2 separate regions of the Homo sapiens genome follow, and region 1 is linked to region 2. The links are contacts of gene promoters, found by promoter capture Hi-C in blood cells and fetal thymus (Javierre and others, 2016). All regions are on one chromosome and are shown on one strand. The core of a region is centred on a gene start or on the middle of the fragment in contact, and the rest is flanking DNA. Distances in the headings are between cores, read along the strand shown. Region 1 has its middle 89 kb from the start of MIR4499. Region 2 holds the start of GJB6 (gap junction protein beta 6).

Region 1 (5,055 bases), core at 1,597-4,096, 110 kb before region 2:
TACCTTCCAAAAGCTTCATCTCTTAATACCATAACTTTGGGGTTTACATACCAACATATGAATTTTGGAGGGACACCAACTTTCAGGCTGTAATGACCCATGTCAACAAAGGAATAACAGTGTATTTGAAATAATGTAATTATTACTTTCGGTATCCATCAGCCCCACAAATATGATTAGAAGTATAGCCCCACATTAGCACCACAAATATGATTAGAAGTTTGAAACCTCTGGCATTTGGTCTTGTTTTATGTAAGTTTTCTACATGAAAATATTTGAGAAAAATAAGATACATTCTGTCTCTCATAAAACAAATTTTATATGGGTTTAAGAAATCAACCACACATAGCTGAGAAAAAACTAACATTACTAAAATGTTTAAACGATTTGAATTTTTTGTAATTACATAAGTAATATATCTTCAGGTTAGAAAATATTAAAAAGATAAAGATAAGAAAAGATAATAAGTCTCACATAATCCTGCCACCAGTGATAACTGCAGGCAACATTCTGGTACATGTGGAACAAATACATGTTGAATGAAAAAATGAATTTTCTTCCATCTTTGTCCTAAGTATGTATGTGTATGTTGTTTACACATTGAACTCATATCACGTTAAGTTCTCAGGCTTTTCTTTTTCCATGCAACATCATATCTCAAGCGTAGCAATGTGAATTGCAGTCTACAGCTTAGGAAAGTGAGAAATAGAACTTTCCTTTTCTTATCACACTTATTTCTATTTTAGCCCCCATCTGACAAGGCAGCAGCAGATTCATCTGATCAGTTAAAGCATTCTCTGTCCTGATAGTTGTCTATTGCCGAGGGCAGTAGAGGCAGGAAGGTCACTGAGGCCCTAGAGCTTCCTCCCCCAGGGTTCAGGGCCTGTCTGGTGTCACTGTGAGTCCCCTTCTCCCTGAGGTTGTAGGCAAAGACCAGGGCACTGGGGCGCTTGGTCCTCTCAGACCTCTCAGGATTCAGGGCACAGGGTCCTTCTGATGGGATCTGCTGATGTACCCTAGAAAACAATGCTACCGCAATGAGCTTTCTATGAAATCTGTCAGAAGTTCCATTATTTCCTATGGTAGATTCAGAAAGTGGAATTACCAAGTCAAAGGCTTAAGGCTCTTGATACACATATCAAATTGCTCTCCAGAGCACACCAACCTAATTTTCAGCATCAAGTTGTGACTGCAGCTGCTTAGAGCAGCCTAGCAGGCATGATCATTCATGGCAGCCTTTCTTCAGCTCCTCCAATACATTTCGACGAAGACATGATTTTTGTCTGTTCACCTGCAGAGTTCCATTTCTTTCAGTTAGAAGGTCAACTGTTATTGAGAACTCATTAAATGCAAAGCTTGTATAATTGGAAAAACTCCAAGCCTCAGTTTTTCATCTTCAAAAGAGGTATTAGGTTGAAGCACTTACTTAATTGAGGCTTTTGCCATTACTTTTGATGGCAAAAACTGCAATTCCTTTTGCACCAAAATTACTTTTGTGACCACCCCGCCTGCCCCCACCACGCTCACGAGAGAGAGTTCAGGATAGGGCATGTTCTAACTGATGAGATGAATCTGCTGCTGCCCTGTCAGATGAGGGCTAAAGTAGAACAGATCTGGACTCCTCTGCAAAAATGAGGGCAGAGGCCACTGGCAGGGACACAGAGGACCCCCCGATTCTCTCTACAAAACTTGGTCACTGGGAAGGTTGGCGGCTATGGAAACCCCACAAAATCTTCATGCAGAGCATTCTTAAAGTCCACCTAATCCCAAGCCTTCCTGTTACAGAGGAGGAAACAGCAGAGCCATAAGGTGACCATGAGTCAGGGGTGCAGCCTGGCCTGGACCACTCTCCTCCTGGCCCGGATTCTTTCCATCCACCCTCACAGGGGCTTGGCCTCAGCCAGGAGCTCTGGGCTTCCTATTGCCAGTCCTCAGACAGGGGCCCTGGGCTGCCATATTCACCCCCTCATCCCAGGGGTCACACTGCTCAGGCCACCTAGACCACCTCTTAGGACAGCTGGCCCTCATCCCTGTCCCGGGACAGGTAGGAGCGCAGCAGAAGGGCCGCCGGACTCTTCAGAACTTTTCTCTGCACCGGGCTCAGATGTCCGTCCCAGGCAAGAGCAGGATCCTGTCTCCCTGTTCAGGTTGCGACATTTCCTGCTTTCCATTAATTACATCTAAGTGGAGCGTTTAAACAATTAAAAGAATTTCTAGCACCACTCCTGGCTTAACACTGTTTACCTCTTGTTTAACATACTGATTTGGATTTAGGGTGGTTTATTAAAAAGGCTTTTCCTCAGTGACAGTTCCCTTTGGGCCCTGTCACCCAGTTTCTTGACCAGCTCTGAAGGACTCTGGAGGCCTCTGTGTGATGCTAAACAATTTACACACACACACAAACACAAAACATGAGTGCTCCAGTATTTTTAACCTTGGGAAGTTTTGGTTTATGACATTGTGACGTTTTTATTTTGTGCCATTTTTTCTTAATGGGGGAGAAAACAAATACTTCTTGGCTCCCTATAATAGCACAGGCATTATAACAAGTACTTTCTGAGCCTTCTGTCCTTTATTCCTTGCAACCATCCTTATTGTACCCATTTTACTCACAAGGAAACCAAGTCATAAGGCCAATAAACAGCAAAAACACGGCTGAAGTCCAGATCCAACTCCAGGCCTGCATCCTTACCTCTGTGTGGCATTGCAGCTTCTAGGGTTGTTATCTTCGGGCCTTTGGCCCCCGCCTTTTTTTTTTTGGAGAGAGTGTAACGTTCTGTTACCCAGGCTGGAGTGCAGTGGCACCATCTCAGCTCACTGCAACCTCTGCCTCCTGGGTTCAAGTGATTCTCGTGCCTCAGCCTCTCCAGTTGTGTCCAGGGTTAGTTCCTGCCAGTGGGTTCGTGGAGGGTTCCTGGCCTCGCTGACTTCAAAATGGAGCCACGGACCTTCCCGGTGAGTGTTACAGTGCTTAAAGATGGCACGGAACCAAAGAGCCAGCTGGAGCAAGATTTATTGTAAAGAGCAAAAGAACAAACGTCACACAGCGGAGAAGGGGACCTGAGCGGGTTGTCACTGCTGGCTGGGGTGGCCAGCTTTTATTCCTTTATTTGTCCCCTCCCATGTCCTGTTTCTGTCCTATCAGAATGCCCTTTTCCCAATCCCCCACGAGTGGTTACTTTTAGAGTCCCACTGATTGGTCCATTTTACAGAGTGCTGATTGGTCCATTTTACAGAGTGCTGTTTGGGCCATTTTAAAGAGTGCTGATTGGTGCATTTTACAGACCGCTTGCTAGCTACAGAGCACTGATTGGTGCATTTTTACAGAGTGCTTATTGGTGCATTTTACAAACCTCTTGCTAGCTACAGAGCGCTGACTGGTGTGTTTTACAATCCTCTTGTAAGACAGAAAAGTTCTCCAAGTCCCCTCTCGACCCAGGAAGTCCAGCTGGCTTCACCTCTCACAGTGGCTGGGAATACAGCTGTGCGCCACCATGCCTAGCTAATTTTTGTATTTTTAGTAGAGATGGGGTTTCACCACGTTGTCCTGGCTGGTCTCAAACTCCTGGCCTCATGCAATCCACCCACCTTGGCCTCCCAGAATGCTAGGATTACAGGTGGGAGCCACTGCACCTGACCAGCATTTGCACATTTTAGAGGGTGACTGTTCTGGGTGACAAATCACTCCCCAGGGACCACAGCATCAGTTTCACATGTAAAGTGGCCGGGGAAATGGAACTTAGCCCATTTAATAGACATTTGCTCACAAGTTGCCTGTTTCACCAGGATGGCTGCATGAAGGAACATGGAGTTAGGAGGTTGCTGGGTTAGATCAGCTAATGCTTCTAAATGGAAACAAGTTTCAATGGGGTGAGAGTCATGGGGTGGTGACATGGACTAAACTAAGCCCTTCCTGGGGGCCAGGTTACCATGAATGTTTGCCAGTGACAGCACATCCACGACCTCGGCCAGGATGGAGGCCCACAGGGAGAGTGAGGAGGACGGACAGGGCGAGGCGTGAAGGCTGACCTCAGAAATGCACTGGATGAGCCGTGGCTCCTTTTGCTGGGAAAGAAAACACAAGCGAGTTAAGTAACCTAAATTATATGTCTAGCCCTACAAATGACCTAAGGCAGATAATTCTACCTGTTATGACTCAAATCCTCTCTCTACAAAATGGGAGAAATAATATTGCACTAAGTAATCTTCCTAGAGATGCTAGGAGAACTTCCAGAGAGATTTATTTCTCAACCCATAAACTAATGTTGGTTACACCCAACATACAGTTCTTTAATTTCTTATTTCTTGTGTCCCAGGATCACAGGAAAAAAAGCTTTCTGACATAAAACACAGAAATTGCACAGAGCTACCCAAGTTCATTCTAAAATTAAGTTTTGCCTGATCCAAGAACCCTTCTTGGTTATAGGTTCATAAAATGAAAAGGATTTAGAGATGACTCAGTCCAGCAATGCAAGTGTCTAGAGGGTAACCTTCCACCCCCGGGGCCAGTTAGCAGGTGGACAGCATTATTCCCTCCAGGTCTCATCCTTGGAGGCTGAGCACAGCCCACAGTGCTCCTCCACCAGCCATGCCAGCTGACTGCAGCTGGCATTTGAGTGGAACCCTACTGGCTGTCCCTGACCTGGTCCAACCCTTTCATTTATAGGCAAACCTCCAGAAGCCCACAGAGTTTCAATGAAGAAATAGGGATTGTACAACTAGTGGGAGGCCACTGATAGAATCTAGATCTTATGACTTCCAGCTTCATATCCATATCCTAATACAGCAAGATTCCCTCTCTACAAAATGAATTTTAAAAGAATCAGCCAGGCGTGGCAGCATGCACCCGTAGTCCTAGCTACTTGGGAAACTGAGGCAGGAGGATCACTTGAGCCCAGGAGGTCAAGGCTGCAGTGAGCTCTGATCATGGCACTGCACTCCAGCCTGCATGACAAAGCAAGTCCCCATCTCATAAATAAATAAATATAAAGCTAACAAGACCCAGCTGTACTAAATTCCTCATTTTATTTATTTACTCAATAAATATTATTGAGC
Region 2 (4,710 bases), core at 2,080-4,579:
ACCATGAGTGAATTAAATTTCTTTTCTTTTCTTTTTTTGAGACCGGTCTCACTGTGTTGCTCAGGCTGGAGCACAGTGGCAAGATCATAGCTCACTGCAGCCTCCATCACCCAGGCTCAAGTGATCCTCCTGCCTCAGCCTCCTGAGTAACAGGGACTACAGGCACACACCATCACACCCAGCTAATTTTTTTTTTTTTTTTTTTTTTTAGTAGAGATGAGGTCTCACTATATTGCCCAGGATGGTCTTAAACTCCTGAGCTCAAGCAATCCTCCTGCCTCAGCCTCCCAAAGTGCTGGGATTACAGGCGTGAGCCACCACACCGGCCTGTCTTTTCTTTATAAATTACCCAGCCTCGGGTATTTATTTGTGGCAATGCAAAAACAGCCTAACACATGCATGTTGGGTTCTAGATGTAGCTGGAACCAGTTACCCCTTTCTTCCTGCCTCTCTCTCCCTTTTGGAATGAAAATATCTCTCCTATGCCTGCCCCACCATTGTCTTTTGGGAGTAGATAGCCTGTTTTGATTTCACAGGTTCACAGCTGGAAAGGAGTCTGCCTCAGGCCAGCTATGCCTGCCTTGGAGTCTTAGCTTTATCTGATTTAGATGGGACTCTGGATTTGAACTTTTCAGTTGGTGCTGGAAGAGTTAAGCCTTTGGGGACTATTGGGATGGAATGAATGTATTTCACATGTGAGAAAGGCATGAATTTGGGGGGCTAAGACAGAATGCTATGGTTTGAATGTGTCCCCTAAAGTCCATGTGTTGGAAACTTAATCCCCAATGAAACAGTGTTGAAAGATGGGAGGGACTTTTAAGAGGTGAGGAGGTATGATGGCTTTGCCCTCATGAATGGATTAATGCTGTGATCTCTAGAGTGGGTTAGTTATCTTGAGAGTGGGTTCCTGAAAAAACAATGAGTTTGAACCCCTTCCTCTCTCTCCACCCCCACCTCTCTCTCTTTTCTTTCCCTATCTTCTCATTCTTTTGCCCCTCCACCTCTGCCATGGGAAGACACAGCAAGAAAACCCTCGCCAGATGCGAGCATCTTGATATCAGACTTCCCAGCCTCTAGAATTCTGAAAAATAAATTTCTTTTCTTTATCAGTTACCCAGTCTATGGTATTCTGTTATAGCAACACAAATGGACTAAGACAACTAATTTTCAGTTTTCAAATGCGCATCCCATCAAGTCCTTAAGTTTTATACAGTCCACATTTAATTTCTGCTGCAACAAGACTGTCTGATGAGTAGCAAAAACTGAAGGACAGTGTTCAATGTTAAGGCCATGCAGACTAATATAGATAACCTGAACAGAAAAAGAGATATTTTACACAGTGATGAGATGGTTTCATTTTTGCACACATGAGCAAATGCAACACATTCTCTGTGACAACTTTGGTTTGAAAGTTCTATCCTGCACCAGTCCTAGAACAATTTCCACTGGTCCAGGATGTCAATGCTCAGACACAGTACTGCATGGAATCAGGTGCAGGATTGAGAACAGGGCATGCTTTAGAAAAAGCAAAAGCTATTTCCAGGACTATCTGCTATGCTGGTTCAGCTTTGCCAAGCAATATTCAAATACTCATGGAGCAGCACATACTATGAGCAAAGTACTTAGTATTGTAGAAATGCAAAAGAAGAAGAAGAGGAAGAAAAGCTTAAACTGTTTATAATCCCCAAAGAAGTTTACAATCTGCTTAGAAAAATTATTTTACTATGCAAACAGCTGAGCCTGGCTGAAGCATCTGTTTGGGAGAGGAATGGAGAGAAGACTGGGAAGTCCACAGTTAGATTGTGTGGGGCAGGACAGAGCACCCAAGATTTACCGCATAGGGCACATCTGGGCAGTGTGAGGATGTCTAACAAAAAAGCCTAGAGATGCTCGGCGCGGTGGCTCACGCCTGTAATCCCAGCACTTTGGGAGGCTGAGGCAGGTGGATCACCTGAGGTCAGGAGCTCCAGACCAGCCTGGCCAACATGGTGAAACCCAGCTCTACTAAAAATACAAAACCTAGCCAGGCATGGTGGTGCGGGCCTGTAATCCCAGCGACTCGGGAAGCTGAGGCAGGAGAATCACTTGAACCCGGGAGGCAGAGGTTGCAATGAGCTGAGATCACACCACCACACTCCAGCCTGGGCAACAGAGCCAGACTTAGTCAAAATAAATAAATAAATAAATAAATAAATAAATAAATAAATAAATTTAAAAAGCCTAGAGATTTCTGTGTCTCTCCACTCTCCAAGTTCAAGGCCATTTCAGGGGCCTCCCCAAAGTTTTTAAAACTTGACTTGGGCAAATTCTTTAAGAACCTTGTTCTCCTCAAATAAAATATTTTGGAAAGCGGATTTTTATGAAGTCTTGGCTCAAATTCCATGACCTTTAACAGACATCTTAATTGTTTCGTGGGAGAATATGACCCAACAAGTGGCATATGGTTTAGGTGGGGACGTTTAATTACCGAACAGTTTTGTAGAATAAGCAAGTCACACATCTTTTGTCCGATGCGTGACAGGTTTGAACCTGTAAAGCCAGGTGCCTAAATAGCTTCCAACGTTTCCACCCCACCAGCCCTTGCACCACTCCCTGTACTGGCCCTGAGCTTTCTAGTCTTGACTGAAAAGCGGGGAGGCAATGTGGTCTCTCCTGGTGCACTGTCCCGAGGAAGGCCTGCTCCGCTTCCCCGGAGGAGTCTTCAAAGGATGGAGGTAATTAATAAAAACAACCCCTGTACCTCCTCTAAGTGGTCATTAATTAATAAAGAACCTCCAGGCTCCTATAGGAGAGGTCTGTGCACCCCGCGGGCTATGAGAAGGCTGGATCACCCAGAAAGACTGAGGATGTGTCCTGGCAAAAACACAGCCTGCCCCTCACACTGCTCCCCACGGGTGCACTAGGGAGGAAGAGTTCCCTCGAGGGCCTGAGCAGGCGCCCCACACCTGCACCCGTGCAGAGGGGGCTGGGCCCGCCCTCTGCGCTCCCGAGGGAGAGCCCTACCCCCTGCATCCCCGGTACCCCGTTCCCTCCAAGGGCCGGAAAGAGGGCCCCGCGCACTGTGCACTTCTTAGGGGTCCCCCACCCTGCGCCCCCGCCACGGGAAAAAGGTCCCCGCTCTGCGCATCCGGCCCCGGAGGGACAGCCCCGGTCCTGCACTCCTTGCTCCTCAGGGGGACGGTCCGCGCCCAGCGGCTAGTGCGCCCCGGGTAGGTGGGGGCGGGGGGCTCGTCGAGTGACAGCGCTCGCCTCCCGCAGCCCGCCCGAGCCGCGTCAGGGCAGAGGCGGGGTGGGGCGCGGTTAAAAGGCGCAGCAGGTGGGAGCCGGGGCCTTCACCCGAAACCCGACGAGAGCCCGACAGCCGGCGGCGCCCGAGCCCGACCTGCCTGCCCAGCCGGAGCGAAGGGCGCCGCCCCGCGCAGAGCCCGCGCCAGGGCCGCCGGCCGCAGAGCAGGTAAGCGGGCGCGGACCGGCTGGGTCTTGCGGGGGGCGAGCGGGCGGTGCCACCTCGGCCCCCCAGCGGAGGAATTTCCTCCAAGAAAACAAAACAGGTGAGGTCGGCGGCTGGTCCCCACCTCGCCCCTGTCGCTCCTGTCTGGCACCGGATCAGAGCCGGCAGAGCGCGGCCGGGATGGGTGTCTGGCCGCACGTGGGGCGACCGGGCCCCCGATCTGCCTCTATCCGCACCCTCCTGTCCACGCGCCCCGGCCCCGGCCCGATGGCAGTGGGCGCCGCCCGCGCTGGACCCTCTCTCTGTACGCAGAGGAACGAGGATGGACTGGTTTGACTTTTACCCCAGCGTGGTCCCCTTTGACTTGTACAACAGGTTTTATGAAGGTTTCATATCGTGTGTCTAAGAGGCCAGAGTGAGGGCCGGTGCCCCTTTCCCCCGTTTCATTTGCTGCGTGTTGGATTTTCTAAGCTTTTGTGGGTCACCGGGGTGTCCCCTTGGATTTGGGGAGAAGAAAGCCAGGTCTAGGATGCGGGTTTCAGTTCAGACAAACCCTCAACTTGGGCCGATGCATAAGTCCCCGGAGAACCGCAGGGTATGGGCTGCGTGATGGGCTTCCGAGAAACTTGTGAAATGCTGATGACAATAGCGTGGACGACAGTAATTAAAAGTAATTGGCGACACATCTTAGTTAAAACGTGCAGGCACCAGAAGGCACTTCCTGTCGGTGAAGAAGACCTGTCTCCGGTGTCACGGGCATCCTGTGTTTTGCAAACGGGGCTGACCTCCCTTCCTGGGGAGCAGGAAGGGTCAGGGTGAGTGTGGCCTGCCCGCAGCTCTGCACTCCCGGAGGGGTTAGGGACCTGCAACCAGGCGGGGACACTGGCCCAGCGACCTCAGTGTCCCCTGGGTGGGCGTGCACTCTGTTTAGTGTCTGATTGAACGTAACCGTGCCGGGTTGTTCTTTTCCCTCAAGTAGACTTTATGCCATACAGCTATTTTCTTGCCCCAGTTCTAGCAGAATCTAACCAGTGTTCTAGAAGAAAATGTCCTGCCCCCATGCAGTCTCCTTAGAATTGCAGGGTGCTGCTCAGAACTGCTCCTGTGGAGAGCTTTGTCTGTTGTTTGGATCCAGCAGCGTCTTTGGGGGTGTTGCTTGAAGCTTGCCAAGGAGGAGAGGGGGGTTCTGAAGAGAGAACACCAGGGCTCTAGCCTGTCACATAACTGGGGGTGTGGAGAGCGCCTCATTGCCACTGCAG

The links. Contacts are between HindIII fragments. The CHiCAGO score rates a contact against its expected background, and 5 or more counts as called.
Region 1: a contact is called between a fragment that was not itself captured here and the fragment with the promoter of GJB6 in region 2, in 1 of 17 cell types (M0 macrophages). The highest score is 5.9, in M0 macrophages.

What each region holds. Positions count from the first base shown.
Region 1 is chr13:20,342,127-20,347,181 of GRCh38, reverse strand. No RefSeq gene overlaps it. Among named protein-coding and RNA genes, the nearest start is that of MIR4499, 89 kb to the left of the region's middle. The HindIII fragment of the contact is 2,978 bases long and covers 1,358-4,335 here.
Region 2 is chr13:20,230,938-20,235,647 of GRCh38, reverse strand. GJB6 (gap junction protein beta 6) reads left to right here and starts at 3,329. Exons shown (of 5, transcript NM_001110219.3): 1 at 3,329-3,454; 2 at 4,143-4,266. The HindIII fragment of the contact is 2,257 bases long and covers 1,668-3,924 here.